Linked DNA regions of Homo sapiens: regions 1 and 3 are each linked to region 2. The links are contacts of gene promoters, found by promoter capture Hi-C in blood cells and fetal thymus (Javierre and others, 2016). All regions are on one chromosome and are shown on one strand. Each heading gives the region's core, a stretch centred on a gene start or on the middle of the fragment in contact. The rest is flanking DNA. Distances are from core to core; before and after follow the strand shown. Region 1 overlaps CES2 (carboxylesterase 2). Region 2 holds the start of ZDHHC1 (zDHHC palmitoyltransferase 1). Region 3 holds the start of CES4A (carboxylesterase 4A).

Region 1 (4,909 bases), core at 1,278-3,777, 480 kb before region 2:
AGCCTTCATCCCACTACTGCACTCCAGCCTGGGTGAAAAAGCAAAAATCTGTCTCCAGAAACAAGAACCAAAGAGCTCGTGGTGTCCCTCATGCCATTTACCTCATCCTGGGCAAGGGCACAACTTGGCTTCCAGGGCAAAGGTGAAGGCTCTGTGTGCCTGCCAGGCTTCTCCAGGCCCTTATCAGAAGCTGGGGGAGTGTTTCGGCCTTTGGTCCTCTCACCCGAAACTCTCCTAAGTGTATGATCTGTCTCTTCCAACCCTTCCCCAATTTAATTTGCGCAGGTGGAGTCCATACTCCCCCCGCCCCATGGTGCACTGCTGCAGGGCTTCCTCCCGTGCCTGCCCTTGACCACATTCTAGAGTTCACCAGGAGCCCAGCAGGAAGATCTGCCTGGCCTCACAGATGGCTACCTTTTAAAATATTTTGGGCCAGGCACAGTGGCTCACACCTGTTATCCCAGCACTTTGAGAGGCAGAGATGGGAGGATCACTTGAGGCTAGGAGTTAGAGACCAGCTTGGGCAACAAGACTTGTCTCTACCAAAAAAAAAAAAAAAAAAAGTCAAGCATGGTGGCAGACAGCTGTACTCCAAGCTACTCAGGAGGCTGTGGCGGGAGGATCTCAAGCCCAGGAGGTGGAGGCTGCAGTGAGCTGTTATCATATTACTGCATTCCAGCCTGGGCAACAGATGGCGACCTTGTCTGACAAATATATATGTATACAAAATTTTGGGTTGGACCCACATTCAGAAAAAATAATTGACAAGCCATAGGAGGGTACAGGTGATGTGTGCCATCCTCTTTTTACCCAACCAGTCCTGGCTTCTCCTCAGGGGCCATCAAAGTCCCCATGGCCCACACTGGAAACTGCTTGTTGACACCGCAGTACACACAGTGCCCAGCAGTTTACACAAGAATAGATGTGTGCACTTGTCCTTGATTTTCATCTAAACAGTCATAAACTCACCCACTTTCTGGAGCCAGGCTTTTCTACAGCTGGGACTACAGGCATGCACCACCACACCCCGCCAATTTATTTCCTGATTTTTTTGCAGAGACAGAGTCCCACTATGGTCCCCAGGCCAGTCACTGTGCTTTTTATATCCCAGCCACAGCCATACTTTTCTCTTGCACCTCTTTTCACCAACATCACTCATGGTTTGGATGATGCTTTCTTTACATGATTTCTTGCCACTTTGGACATGACATCCCTGAGGACAAGAAACTTGCCTGCCCAATTCCCACCATCATCCTACTGTCACATGACCTGGCACACAGTTGAAGGACACTCTAGTCCCATCAAGGGCATGTGACCCTTTGTTTGAAGGTCCTAGGGCTGAATGATGATGCCTGGCCCCAAGGAGCCTCAGCCTGGTGGGATGGAGACAGGCCCAGGAAGCCAGAGCGGGAAGGGAGTGTTACAGGCAGGAAGTTTGTAAAGCCCATGTTTACAGATCAGAGTCCCTTGAGCTAAGATGAGGATGGCAAGGAAGCAGCAATACCAACAGTTGGGAGGGCAGTCGATTGGTCAAACCCAACCGTGATGTCTGTCTCTCTGCCCACAGGCCAGGACTCAGCCAGTCCCATCCGGACCACACACACGGGGCAGGTGCTGGGGAGTCTTGTCCATGTGAAGGGCGCCAATGCCGGGGTCCAAACCTTCCTGGGAATTCCATTTGCCAAGCCACCTCTAGGTCCGCTGCGATTTGCACCCCCTGAGCCCCCTGAATCTTGGAGTGGTGTGAGGGATGGAACCACCCATCCGGCCATGTAAGCTCTCCAAGGGGTCCAGGGAACTCCAGGCCCTGGGGCAGGGGTGGGGGTGCTCTGAGCTCAGCTAGGCTGCAGTTATCATTTCATCTAAACCCCCACAGCCAGTTTTCCTTCTGAGTTTCGTGGATTCCCACGTGCATTTTTCCAATGAGCATGCTGAGGCTCAGGAGGGCAGAATAACTTCTCAGACTCCTGGATCAGGGCTTGGCATTCAGAAGACATTGGCTCCAGGTGCCGAAGGGAGGGGCAGACACACGTATCTCCCCAGATTCTGGTTATGCCAAGCTTTCTCTGCCACCAGTGGCAGGTGTCTCTGGGAAAGGTTCGGGTTGGCTCTATGAACCTTGTAGGAGCCCCTAACTCTAGTGGCAGATGTTGCAAATACCTGAAGAGAACAGTAGTGGTAGCTTTCTGGGGACCTGCACTCTCCACAGGCACTGTGTCCACTGACAGGACCAGGAGCCATTGGCCAAGAGACATGTATATGTATATGTATATGTTTCCAACTGGAGGCCATGTAGGAATGATGAGTTTTTGAGAGTTTAGACTTGGGATGAGAGACATCCCACTGCCCTTCTCATGAGAAATTAACATCCATTCACTCATGTAGCACACATATGTGGGCTACTCCCCTGTCCCAGGCCTTACGGGTTACAGGAATATAGTGGTGAATGTCAACACATGCAGCCAATGGTTCTCATAGAAACCCCTAAGAGTCAAGGTTTCCGGCAGTGCGAGGAATGATACCCAAGGTCCTCAGTAACCTCGAGGCCTCCCTGGAAGTCCAAGCTGCATCCCAGCTTCCCCAGAGCCTGTGGCCTGTAACTTGGTGGGAAGGGATTTTTGAGAGGGATCATGTGTGAGCAGGATATTGTGGGAAGGGTCTGAGGGTGGCTGGGAGCACCTCTGAACCCAGGGTCTGGTTTTGGCCACAGCCTGGCCCCTGGACTGATTATTTGCCCTGGTTACCAGGTGTCTACAGGACCTCACCGCAGTGGAGTCAGAGTTTCTTAGCCAGTTCAACATGACCTTCCCTTCCGACTCCATGTCTGAGGACTGCCTGTACCTCAGCATCTACACGCCGGCCCATAGCCATGAAGGCTCTAACCTGCCGGTGGGTGTCAGGCCACAGTTCACTGGGGGTTGGAGGACAGTTCTTCTGCAAGAAGCTGAAAAGGACAATATTAGCTCAGGCCCTGCTTCAGAGTGGACCATGCTGAGAAGCTTCTCACTGTCAGGTCCAAGAAATGCTCCTTACCCAGACTGGGCAGCTGGCCCCTGGACATGGGGTCACAGAGTTCTGGCTGCTCCCAGAGGTCAAAGGCTGTGGCTCTGGGCTGGACCCAGGACTCACTCAGCCAACTCATGCCAGGAGATCCACTTAAGTGCCAAAGGGCTGCACCTTGAGGTGACCAAGAACCCCAGCCATGGATAATCTGTTGGGCCTATAGAATGGGCACACACAAAAACTTTTTTTCTTAGAGATGGCATCATGCTCTGTTGCCCAGGCTAAAATGCAGTGGCATGAACATACCTCTCTGTAACCTCGAAATCCGGGATGATCCTCTCAGATTAGCCTCCCGAGTAGCTGGGACTACTGGCCTATTCCACCATGCCTGGCTCATTTTTAAAACATTTTCTGTTGAAACGGGGTCTCACTATGTGGTTCAGGCTAAGGACATTTTTGGTTAATGTTCATGTGGAGCCATCAGGGAGACACCCCTTTTCTTTCCACTTTGGTGAATTATCTGGGGTTAATGAACCCAGGCTTTGATACAGGGGGTTCGATTGCAAAGATTGGGAGGCCTGGTCTTCCTGATAGATCTTGGGTGCCTAACCATTTGCCCATGTAATGAATTTGTGCTGGAGATCTAATGGGGAGGTAGACAGAGGCAAAGCACTGGTTGGTCTAGGTAGTGGCCCTGGTGGGGTTTGGGCTGGGTGGGAGCATCATGGTAGCTGCCTTGATTTCCCCAGGTGATGGTGTGGATCCACGGTGGTGCGCTTGTTTTTGGCATGGCTTCCTTGTATGATGGTTCCATGCTGGCTGCCTTGGAGAACGTGGTGGTGGTCATCATCCAGTACCGCCTGGGTGTCCTGGGCTTCTTCAGGTGAGACTAGGGCTGGGCTGGGCAACCCGGGCTGAGCGGGGCCAGGACAGCCCTGTGATCCCTGTCCCTGCTACTTCTCAGCACTGGAGACAAGCACGCAACCGGCAACTGGGGCTACCTGGACCAAGTGGCTGCACTACGCTGGGTCCAGCAGAATATCGCCCACTTTGGAGGCAACCCTGACCGTGTCACCATTTTTGGCGAGTCTGCGGGTGGCACGAGTGTGTCTTCGCTTGTTGTGTCCCCCATATCCCAAGGACTCTTCCACGGAGCCATCATGGAGAGTGGCGTGGCCCTCCTGCCCGGCCTCATTGCCAGCTCAGCTGATGTCATCTCCACGGTGAGTGCCCTCAGCTGAAGAGGCCTAGGCCTGCTCCCTCCCCTCATATCCCTCAGAGCCTCTGTCTGTTAAACGGGGATGACAAGGGCCATCGGGAGCATGCTCCAGGAGCTGCTGCCTACCGTGGAATTGCTGGGGGGCTCCAGGGTCAGAATTCACATCCTTCTGCCATTGCAGAGGCCGAGCTTGTTCTGTGGCTCCTGTGCAAAGTTGTCACCCTAGGGATCCCCACCATGAGGAGAATCATCTAGGCGGATGGGATGGCCCCTGTGTCTGGGACTTCTGAGTTGGAACAGTGTCAGAACTGCAGGAACTCATACGAAGTACCCTCTGAGATTTGGGGTACCCCTGTTCTTGGCCAGGGCCTTGGGCAAACTCCTCTCCTCTACCTGGAAGGATGAGCCAGCCCCTGCCTGGTCCCTTTACAGGTGGTGGCCAACCTGTCTGCCTGTGACCAAGTTGACTCTGAGGCCCTGGTGGGCTGCCTGCGGGGCAAGAGTAAAGAGGAGATTCTTGCAATTAACAAGGTTGGTCTAAATGGATGTGGGTGTAGAGGAAGGGGTGCAATAGGCATGGGGCTGGCAGGCCTGCACGGCCGTCATATTCCCTGGGCACATTACCTCATCTGCATGCCTGAGTGTCATAGCCCTGGGTCGGGACTGAAGGTCGGTGCATGCTGAGCC
Region 2 (4,918 bases), core at 1,864-4,363:
TAGAAAGAAAACACTTCACGGTACACAGATTTTTACACTGCAAAAAGTCATTTACAAAAGATTCTTTAGGGACAAGTACTTTGTTTATTAAAATTCCCCACAGGTGCCAGAGAAGTCTCTGGCCTTAAAATTCTGAGAAGCAGCTCTAGCTCAACTAACGGATGCGCATCACACAACTACCAAAAATTAAACTGGAACTTCAAGCTGTTCCCAAAGACCTCTCAAGTCACTGATCTCAGATGTGGCTGGGCCCTTGCTTTCTCTCTCATAAACAACAGGTGGAAGTCTGATGCTGGTTGGACCCAGTGGCTCATGCCTGTAATCCCAGAACTTTGGGAAGCCGAGGCGGGCAGATCACCTGAGGTCAGGAATTCGAGACCAGCCTGGCCAACATGGTGAAACCCGTCTCTACTAAAAATACAAAAATTAGCCAGGCATGGACGTGGGTGCCTGTAATCCCAGCTACTCTGGAGGCTGAGGCAGAAGAATCTCTTGAACCCAGGAGGTGGAGTTTGCAGTGAGCCGGGATCATGCCATTGCACTCCAGACTGGGCAACAGAGCGAGACTCCGTCTCAAAAAAAAAAAAAAAAAAAAAAAGTCTGATGCTATGGCAAGAAAAGCTTGAAACTCCAATTATTCCTGAGTTGACATGGTTTGCAAACATTTTCTGTGCCATTCTCCTCCTGAAGCAACCACTGCAAATTGTTTGGGATACAAATGAAGCCAAGGAAAGGGGACAAGTAGGAGGGAGTAACACAGAATAGAAACAAGGCCAGTGAAGAGAGGCCAAGGTTATTGACTTTAACCAGGAAATCAACTCATGACTGCAGGAGCCAGCCTTGGGGAACACCCACCACACAAGAGTCATTAAAAACAACGTTGTGACAGAACAAAGAAAGAAAAACAAAAACAAAACAAAACAATCTGGCTAATTAAGCACCACTGTTGCTTTTACTGCATCTCATGGTGATTATCTGTTTACAAACCCGTCTCCCACAGTGAACCACCAGTTCCACAAAAGCAGAGACCACCCCTCACCCGTGTCTGAACCCAGCTCTCTTTCAGTAAAGGAAGTCAAGCCACTTTTTTACCATCTCTGCTGTCATTACCCCAATCCAAACCTCCAGCATCGCTCTCCTACAGTGTTTGCATGATAATAACCAACACCAGCATTTAGAATGCACTTATTCTGTGCCAGGCACTGTTTCAGTGGAATTCACTCATTCAATCCTCATAGAGCTCTAAGGAAGGTCCTATCATTTCCAACTGTTCTTGTAGATCCCTGTAGTCACTGATTTCAGATGTGACTGGCCTCTCACTTCCTCATAAAAAACATACAGAACACCCACTCCCATCATGAGGACACTGAGGCTCAGAGACACTAAATGAGTTATTTTAGGAGGCACAGCTAGATTGGCAGAACTAGGATGGCCCTCAACTGACTTCCCGGTATGTCTGTCACAACCATGCTGCTCAGCAGCCAGAGTGAAGTGAGCTTTTCAAACGTGAAACTCATCCAAACTCTTCTTTGGGAGGCCAAGGTGGCTGGATCACCTGAGGTCAGGAGTTCAAGACCAGCCTGGCCAACATGTTGAAACCCCGTTTCTACTAAAAATACAAAAATTAGCTGGGTGTGGTGGCAGGCGCCTGTAATCCCAGACTTGGGGGGCTGAGGCAGGAGAATCGCTTGAACCCGGGAGGTGGAGGTTGCAGTGAGCCGAGATTGTGCCATTGCAGTCCAGCCTGGGTGACAGAGCGAGACTCCATCTGGAAAATAAAAATAAAAATAAACAAAAAATAAAAAACTCTTCTGCCGCTTGCAGTGGCTCACACCTGTAATCCCAGCACTTTGGGAGGCTGAGGCAAGAGGATCCCTTGAGACCAGGAGCTCGAGACCAGCCTGGGCAAAATAGTAAGACCTCATCTCTACCAAAACCTTAAAAAATTAGCTGAGCGTGGTGGCGGGTATCTGTAGTCTCAGCTACTTGGGAGGCTGAGGCGGGAGGATCGCTTGAGCCCGGGAGCCGGAGCCTGCGGTGACCCATGTTCACACCACAGCACTCCAGCCTGGGTGACAAAGGGAGACCTTGTCTCAAAAAAATAAAAAATTGGCTGGGAACGGTGGCTCACACCTGTAATCCCAACGCTTTCGGAGGCCGAGGCGGGTGGATCACCTGAGGTCAGGAGTTCGAGAACAGCCTGGCCAACATGGTGAAACCCCGTCCCTACTAAAAATATAAAACTTAGCCGGGCGTGGCGGCGGGCGCCTGTAATCCCAGCTACTCCAGAGGCTGAGGCAGCAGAATGGCTTGAACCCGGGAGGCGGAGGTTGCAATGACCCGAGTCGTGCCACTGCGCTCCATCCAGCCTGGGTGACAAGAGCGAAACTCCGTCTCAAAGAAAAAACTAAAACTCTTCCCATGGTTTCCTTTTAAAACAGACCCTCCATGACCAACCCCTCCATTTCAATACCAGAGAGCCTAACCCGACCTGAAATCACTTTAGTCATGTATGACATCCGCTTCCCAGCCCCCTTCCTTAATGCTCTGGGTTCTGGAGACAGACCACGTCTGTTGGGAGTCCTCTGTGCCCACGCCTGGCACAGAGCCTGGCAAAGAGTAAGCGCTCAAGGAAGATCTGTGAACTTGATGCATGCTAAAAGGAAGCCCCGCGCTCTGCCGGGGCCCTGGAACTCAGGCCACCGGCTCCAGGCGGAAGCGAGCCCAAAGCCGGCCAGGCGGCAGCATCCGCTACCCCGTGGCTCAAGCCAGGCTCCGAGGTGAGAAACCGGGCGGGGACTCCTCACCTGCGCGCCGCGGAGGCCGTGCCAGATGGGCCCTGCCAAAGTCAGCCAGAGGTTCGGGCCCCACGCCTGGCCTTCCACCCTCCCCGGGGCAGCCGCGCCTCAGACCCTCGCGGTAGGGACGGTCCCCGGGACTGGGCGGCAACGCGCCCGGGAGCGGGGCCCCATCCCGGACGGAGACTGGGCCGGTGAGTCCTCGAGCTCTGGCTCTGGCTCCGGCTCCGGCTCCGGCTCCGGCTCCGGCTCCGGCTCCAGCAGGCTGGAGGGGCGGCCAGGCCAGACCCAGACTGGCTGGGCCTCGTCCGGCGCTGGGCCCGTTCCCCTGACAACGGCGCGGGCTACGGCGCCCCACAGCGGCCAAACCGCGCTGCGTCACTCCGCGCCGGTCCCCCGGCCAGGGCGGGGCTTGCCAGGGACCCTCTTGGTGCCCCAGTCGGCCCATTCCCAGATTCTTCCTAACCTTTCGTCTAGAAAATCCGCTTTTCCCTACTCCCGAGTCACAGCTTGTCTCCCCGAAATCCTAACATCTCAAAAGCGCCCCCTTCCAGTTTCTATCCTGAGACCACCGCTCTCAAGAAGAGACCTCCCCCAACCCCAGTCAACCTGCACACTTCAATGAGCGTATGTGCTGGAACATCCATGATATCCCGACCCTTCCGGGAGCTTACAGGTTAAGAGGCAAACAGATCTAGACAAATAAATTACACCACTAAAAATGCAGGTACCCCAGAATATAAAGCGAGAAGCGTAAGAGCTTAAAATAAGCAGCACAAAATATCTCATTTATTTATTGCCTTTAAATCAAGCAAAAATCAAGCCCCAATCTTCCAGGCTGATGGGAAATTCAGTCTTTTTCTATTTTTTAAACTGGTCTCTGTTACCCAGGCTGGAGTGCAGTGGCACGATCACGGCTCTCTGCAGCCTCGAACTCCTGGGCTCAGGCGATCCTCCCGCCTCAGCCTCCAGAGTAGCTAGGACTACAGGCGAACACCACCACGCCCGACTAATTTTCGCATTTTTTTGTAGAGGCGTGGTTTTGCCATGTTGCCCAGGCTGGTTTCGAACTCCTGAACTCAAGCGACCCGCCCACCTCAGCCTCCAAAAGTGCTAGGATTACAGGCGTGAGCCCCTGCCCGGCCGGGAAATTCAGTCTCAGTCTCCACTGTACTCCTTTTAGCTAGGTAATTCCAAAGGACTCATGTTTTCCTATAGCAAAAAACAACAATCAAAAACAAATAAGCAAAAAACTCTCTGGTCAGGGTTTTGTCTGGTACTGAGGCCACAACCATTGCTCCAGTCCACAAAGATTTTCAGGTTTGGGCTCTATGAGGCCATCCCTGCCTGAGGCCCCTGCCTCTCCCTGGGGCTGCCAGGGACAGACACCTGCTTCCTCTGCTCCATGGCCTGCAGCCTCCCTTCCCTTTCTCTACCTGGGAGACTTCCCTGCTAACTTGGTTTCCCTAAAAGTCCCCTCTCCTCTTCTCCTTGTGGACACTCAGAATGGAATCTTCTATGAGCTCAGGCTTTCTCAAAAGACAGGAAGACACTTTGTCTTCTGCTATCTGTCCTGTGCGCATCTCCAAGGCAGATATGACAGATAGGGAAAGAAAACATCCTTATCTCTAAAATGTATAAGTCACAAGCATACTTATTGTATGTTTTATTAGGCAACATAACTACTCCTTCTCTGTCACATGACAGGTGTGTGGGTCCTTGTGCAAGTGACATAACCTATTACTTAAATTCTTGTTTTCAAGACTGATAAACTCAAACTCAATGTGAGATAAATATCAATGCTATTCTGGCTTCAGAGTACAAGCTGACTACTTAACTCTTATCTGGAATTGGAAAACTTCGGGTCAAACAGAGATCATGACCCAGAAATCAAGGTGAAGGATGAGGCTGGATGCAGTGGCTCACACCTGTAATCCCAGCACTTTAAGGAGGCTGAGGCAGGAAAATCACTTGAAGCCAGGAGTTTGAGACCAGCCTGGGATACATAGAGAGACTCCCATCTCTACAAAAGATGAAAAAAAATAGCTGGGCCTGGTGGCCTGTGCCTATAGTCCCAGCTACTCACGAGGCTGGGGCAGGAGAAAAGAATCACTTGAGTT
Region 3 (4,374 bases), core at 192-2,691, 430 kb before region 2:
CCAGGCAGCAATGATTGGGCAGTGAATGCCACATTCCTTGGGACTGAGGAAGGGTCACAAGGATGGGAACTGTGGGAGAGGAGTCCCAAATAAAGAGCATCTCCGAAGAACTCAGAAAATTGACTGTGAAAGAAGGAGGTTTAACCATCTGTCAGGCCTATAGAGCAAGAGGCTGTGGGCCAAGGGAGAAGTTCTCTGTTCCCCTGCCTTTTCCCCTCCCCAGCACAGAAGCCCAACAGACCCTCTTTTCACAAAGATGGGCCAGGACCCCAGACTTTGGGGGTACACGAGAGAGGAAACATCTTACCTTTTTTTTGTTCTTTGAGATGGAGTCTCACTCTGTCGCCCAGGCTGGAGTACAGTGACGCCATCTTGGCTCACTGCAAGCTCCGCCTCCTGGTTTCAAGCAATTCTCTTGCCTCAGCCTCCTGAGTAGCTGGAACTACGGGCGCGTGCCACCACGCCCGGATAATTTTTTGTATTTTTAGTAGGGACGGGGTGTTAGCCAGGATGGTCTCGATCTTCTGACCTCGTGACCCGCCTGCCTCAGCCTCCCAAAGTGTTGGGATTACAGGCATGAGCCACCGTGCCTGGCCTATTTATTTTTGAGACAGGGTCTCACTCTGTCACCCAGGCTGGAGTGCAGTGGCCCGATCTCGGCTCACTACAACCTCCGCCTCCCAGGTTCAAGCCATCCTCCTGCCTCAGCCTCCTGAGTAGCTGGGACTACAGGCACACACTACCACGCCCAGCTAATTTTTGTATTCTTTGTTTTAGTAGAGACGGGGTTTCACCATGTTGGCCAGGCTGGTCTCGAACTCCTGACCTCAGGTGATCCACCTGCCTCAGCCTTCCAAAGTGCTGGTATTACAGGCATGAGCCACCACACCCAGCCCCATCTTACCTTTGACTGAAGATGGGACTGCTGTCTCCTTGCTTCCACCTCCCACACTTGCTCCTGTGGCTCCAAACTTCAAACAGGATCTTTCTTTGCCTGGCCCACTCCTCCTCATCCTTTACTTAGAAGATTAGATCTTTTCCAGGGAATCTTCATTCCCACCACCCGGCTCTGGGCTCACTCCTCGGGTGCCCCTCTGGGCTCCCACATTACGGTTGCTTTCAGGTCCAGCTTCCGCATGTGGACTATGAAACTGTGAGGACAGCCAAGGGTCAGCATGTGCGAGGAAAGGCAGGGAAGAGGCTAGACGAGGCACTGGGGAGCAGGGAGGCCCAAGACCCTTAAATCCACAGACAGGAAGCCCTGGCTGAAGGGCCAAGTAACCAGGTGTTCTACTTCAATCTTGGCACCCACTGTATGCTTAGACCTTGACTCACACATGTTCAGCTTTAAGCCACTGCACAGATGAGCAAACGGGGCGGAGATTGCAGGCTGATCAGTTTGAAGAGCCAAGATCATCTAGCGTGACCTGTTGCCCAAGGCAGAGACAAGGCTGTGGGCTGGTCAGAAGCTGGTTACAATTCCTCCCGCCCCAGTACTTGCTGGCAGGGATTAAGAGCAGATAAAAGTGTGCTCACACACTGTAGACACGGCTACCATGCCATCCACAGTGTTGCCATCCACAGTGTTGCCATCACTCCTGCCCACAGCAGGAGCTGGCTGGAGCATGAGGTGGATTCTGTGCTGGAGCCTCACCCTCTGCCTGATGGCGCAGACGGCCTTGGGTAAGACCCCCACCCCTTCCCGAGAGTGTCAGGCAAGACGGGCACAAGGGATGGAGGGACAGGCCCCAGTTCAACCTCTCCTGGGGACAGCAGGGCAGGAGCACTTAGACAAGGCCTGGGCAAATGGAGGGTAGGGTTTCAGGACACTAAACCATCTACCAGCTGGGAGTCTGGACAAGTCCTTTAGCCTCCCTGAACCTCAGGGCTTCTCTGTATTTCCTGCCTCCCGGCACAGGTGAAGGGGTCTGAGAACATGGCCACATCTTTTCTTCCTTCCCACCTTTTTCCTTCCTTCCATCCTTCTTTCCTTCTCCTAAGCAGGAGGCCTGTCTCTGCCCCCTCTCTGCTACATGAACCTCTTTACCACCTTCAAATTTCTCCCCAATATCTTTCTTTTTAAAATGAGTACTACACTTTTTACTGTGAAAACAATCTAATACATTAACAAAAGTTTACTGAGGTATAAGATGTATACAGCAAGGTGCACACATCTTCACTGTATAATTATATCTATTATACTAATTATTATATATATATATATGGTAACCATTATCCAGATCAACATCTAGAACATTTCCAGTGGGTTAGGCATGGTAGCTCATGCCTGTAATTCCAGCACTTTGAGAGGCTGAGGTGGGAGGATTACTTGAGCCCAGGAGTTTGAGACCAGCCTGGGCAAATAGTGAGACCTAGCCTGGGTAAATAGACTCTGTCTCTATTTTTAAAAAACATTTTTTAAAAAGTTTTTTTAACTTACAAGGATACACCTGTAATCCCAGCACTTTGGGAGGCCGAAGCGGGCAGATCACCTGAGGTCAGGAGTTTGAGACCAGCCTAACCAATATTATTACCCCGTCTCTACTAAAAATACAAAACTAGCCAGGCATGGTGGCACATGCCTGTAATCCCAGCTACTCAGGAGGCTGAGGCAGGAGAATCGCTTGAAGCCAGGAGGCAGAGGTTGTAGTGAGCCGAGATCGTGCCATTGCACTCCAGCCTGGGCAACAAGAGCGAAACTCTATCTCAAAAAAAAAAACAAAAAACCATCTCCAGCGTCCCATGTACTCCTTCTCAGTCAATACTCAAAGTTACCACTAGTCTGACCTCTATCATAAATAAATTTTGCCCATATATACATATATCCATTATTTTAAATTTGAAGGAAACTTTGCTTACTCCGCTTTTAACATTTTGGCGCATTTTCTTTTCATCTTTTCTTTTTTTTTTTTTTTTTTTTTGAGACGGAGTCTCGCCCTGTCACCCAGACTGGTGTGCAATGGTGCCATCTCCGCTCACCGCAACCTCCACCTCCCGGGTTCAAGCAATTCTCCCCACCTCAGCCTCCCAAGTAGCTGGGACTACAGGCGTACACCACAAGCCCAGCTAATTTTTGTATTTTTTTAGTGGAGATGGGGTTTCGCCATGCTGGCCAGGCAGGTCTCGAAATTCTGACCTGAGATGATCCACCTGCCTCGGCCTCCCAAAGTGCTGGGACCGCAGGCATGAGCCACCATGCCCAACCTCTTTTCACCTTTTCATTGTGTATTTATCTATAGCTGTACTATTAGAATGTACACAATTTTAAGCCAAATGGGGTGGCTCATGTCTATAATCCCAGCATTTTGGGAGTCTGATGTGGGAGGATTGCTTAAGCTCAGGAGTTCAAGACCAGCCTGGGCAACATAACTAGAGCCCATCTGAACAAAAAATTTAAAAATTAGCCAAGCATGGTGTGGTGCATGCCTGCAGTCCCAACTGCTCGAGAGGCTGAAGTGAGAGGCTCACTTGAGTTTGGGAGGTGGAGGCTGTAGTGAGCTATGATCATGCCACTGCCTTCCAGCCTGGGCAACAGAGGGAGACCTTGTCTCAAAAAAAGAAAAAAATAAGGGAAAGAAAAGAAAAGAAAGAATGAATGAATAAACACAATTTTATATTCTGGGGTTTTTCTTTTTTTTTTTAATTTAAGTTATTACCAAAAGCAGTTTAAAGTTTGAGTCTGTAGTTACATTGGCCTTGCTTGGTCCCCAGATATAAATGATGCTTCCAGTATTCACTATGGTATAGATAAATTTAGTTCAGAAAGGTCTTTGTTTTCATGTGTTTCTGACTATTTTCACAGGGGAGAGACCCAGAAGTGGAATTACTGAGTGAAGGCATGTGAACTTTTCTTTTCTTTTCTTTTCTTTTCTTTTTTGGTTGTTGTTTTGTTTTTGAGATGGAGTCTCACTCTGTCTCCCAGGCTGGAGCACAGTGATGCGATCTTGGCTCACTGCAACCTCCACCTCCTGGGTTCAAGCAATTCTCCTATCTCAGCCTCCCGAGTAGCTGGGATTACAGGCACGCACCACCACGCCCAGCTAATTTTTGTATTTTTAGTAGAGACAGGGTTTCACCATGTTGGCCAGGCTGGTCTCGAACTCCTGACCTCCAGTGATCCACCTGCCTTGACCTCCCAAAGTGCTGGGATTACAGGCGTGAGCCACCACACCAGCTGGCAAGTGAACTTTTCATGGCTTTGTATACATTTCGCCAAATTATTTTCCCAAGGCATTGTATCAGTTTATCCTCCACCAACAGTATATGTGAATGTCCTTTTCACTGTATCTTCACCAGAATTAGATGCCATCACTTTTAAATTTATTAGGTCTAAGTTGTAACTCCTGGTTTTAGTTAGCACTTTATGACCACCAG

What was found. The method cuts DNA at HindIII sites, captures the fragments that hold promoters and counts their contacts. A CHiCAGO score of 5 or more calls a contact.
Region 1: a contact is called between a fragment that was not itself captured here and the fragment with the promoter of ZDHHC1 in region 2, in 1 of 17 cell types (M0 macrophages). The highest score is 5.5, in M0 macrophages.
Region 3: the fragment with the promoter of CES4A here is called in contact with the fragment with the promoter of ZDHHC1 in region 2 in 12 of 17 cell types (activated CD4 T cells, erythroblasts, neutrophils and 9 more); the score reaches 13.4 in activated CD4 T cells.

What each region holds. Positions count from the first base shown.
Region 1 is chr16:66,936,470-66,941,378 of GRCh38, forward strand. CES2 (carboxylesterase 2) reads left to right here. Exons shown (of 12, transcript NM_001365405.1): 2 at 1,568-1,772; 3 at 2,748-2,889; 4 at 3,753-3,886; 5 at 3,968-4,226; 6 at 4,655-4,753. Among named protein-coding and RNA genes, the nearest start is that of CES2, 3.4 kb to the left of the region's middle. RefSeq lists enhancers at 4,089-4,588, 4,648-4,909. The HindIII fragment of the contact is 939 bases long and covers 2,059-2,997 here.
Region 2 is chr16:67,413,364-67,418,281 of GRCh38, forward strand. ZDHHC1 (zDHHC palmitoyltransferase 1) reads right to left here and starts at 3,114. Exons shown (of 12, transcript NM_001323627.2): 1 at 2,808-3,114. It overlaps LOC124903702 (a long non-coding RNA gene), which reads left to right and starts at 2,540. Exons shown (of 2, transcript XR_007065093.1): 1 at 2,540-2,780. RefSeq lists a silencer at 2,781-3,170 and an enhancer at 3,003-3,660. The HindIII fragment of the contact is 9,596 bases long and covers 620-4,918 here.
Region 3 is chr16:66,987,148-66,991,521 of GRCh38, forward strand. It overlaps CES4A (carboxylesterase 4A), which reads left to right and starts at 1,442. Exons shown (of 14, transcript NM_001364782.1): 1 at 1,442-1,683. The coding sequence starts at 1,626. The HindIII fragment of the contact is 37,432 bases long and covers 1-4,374 here.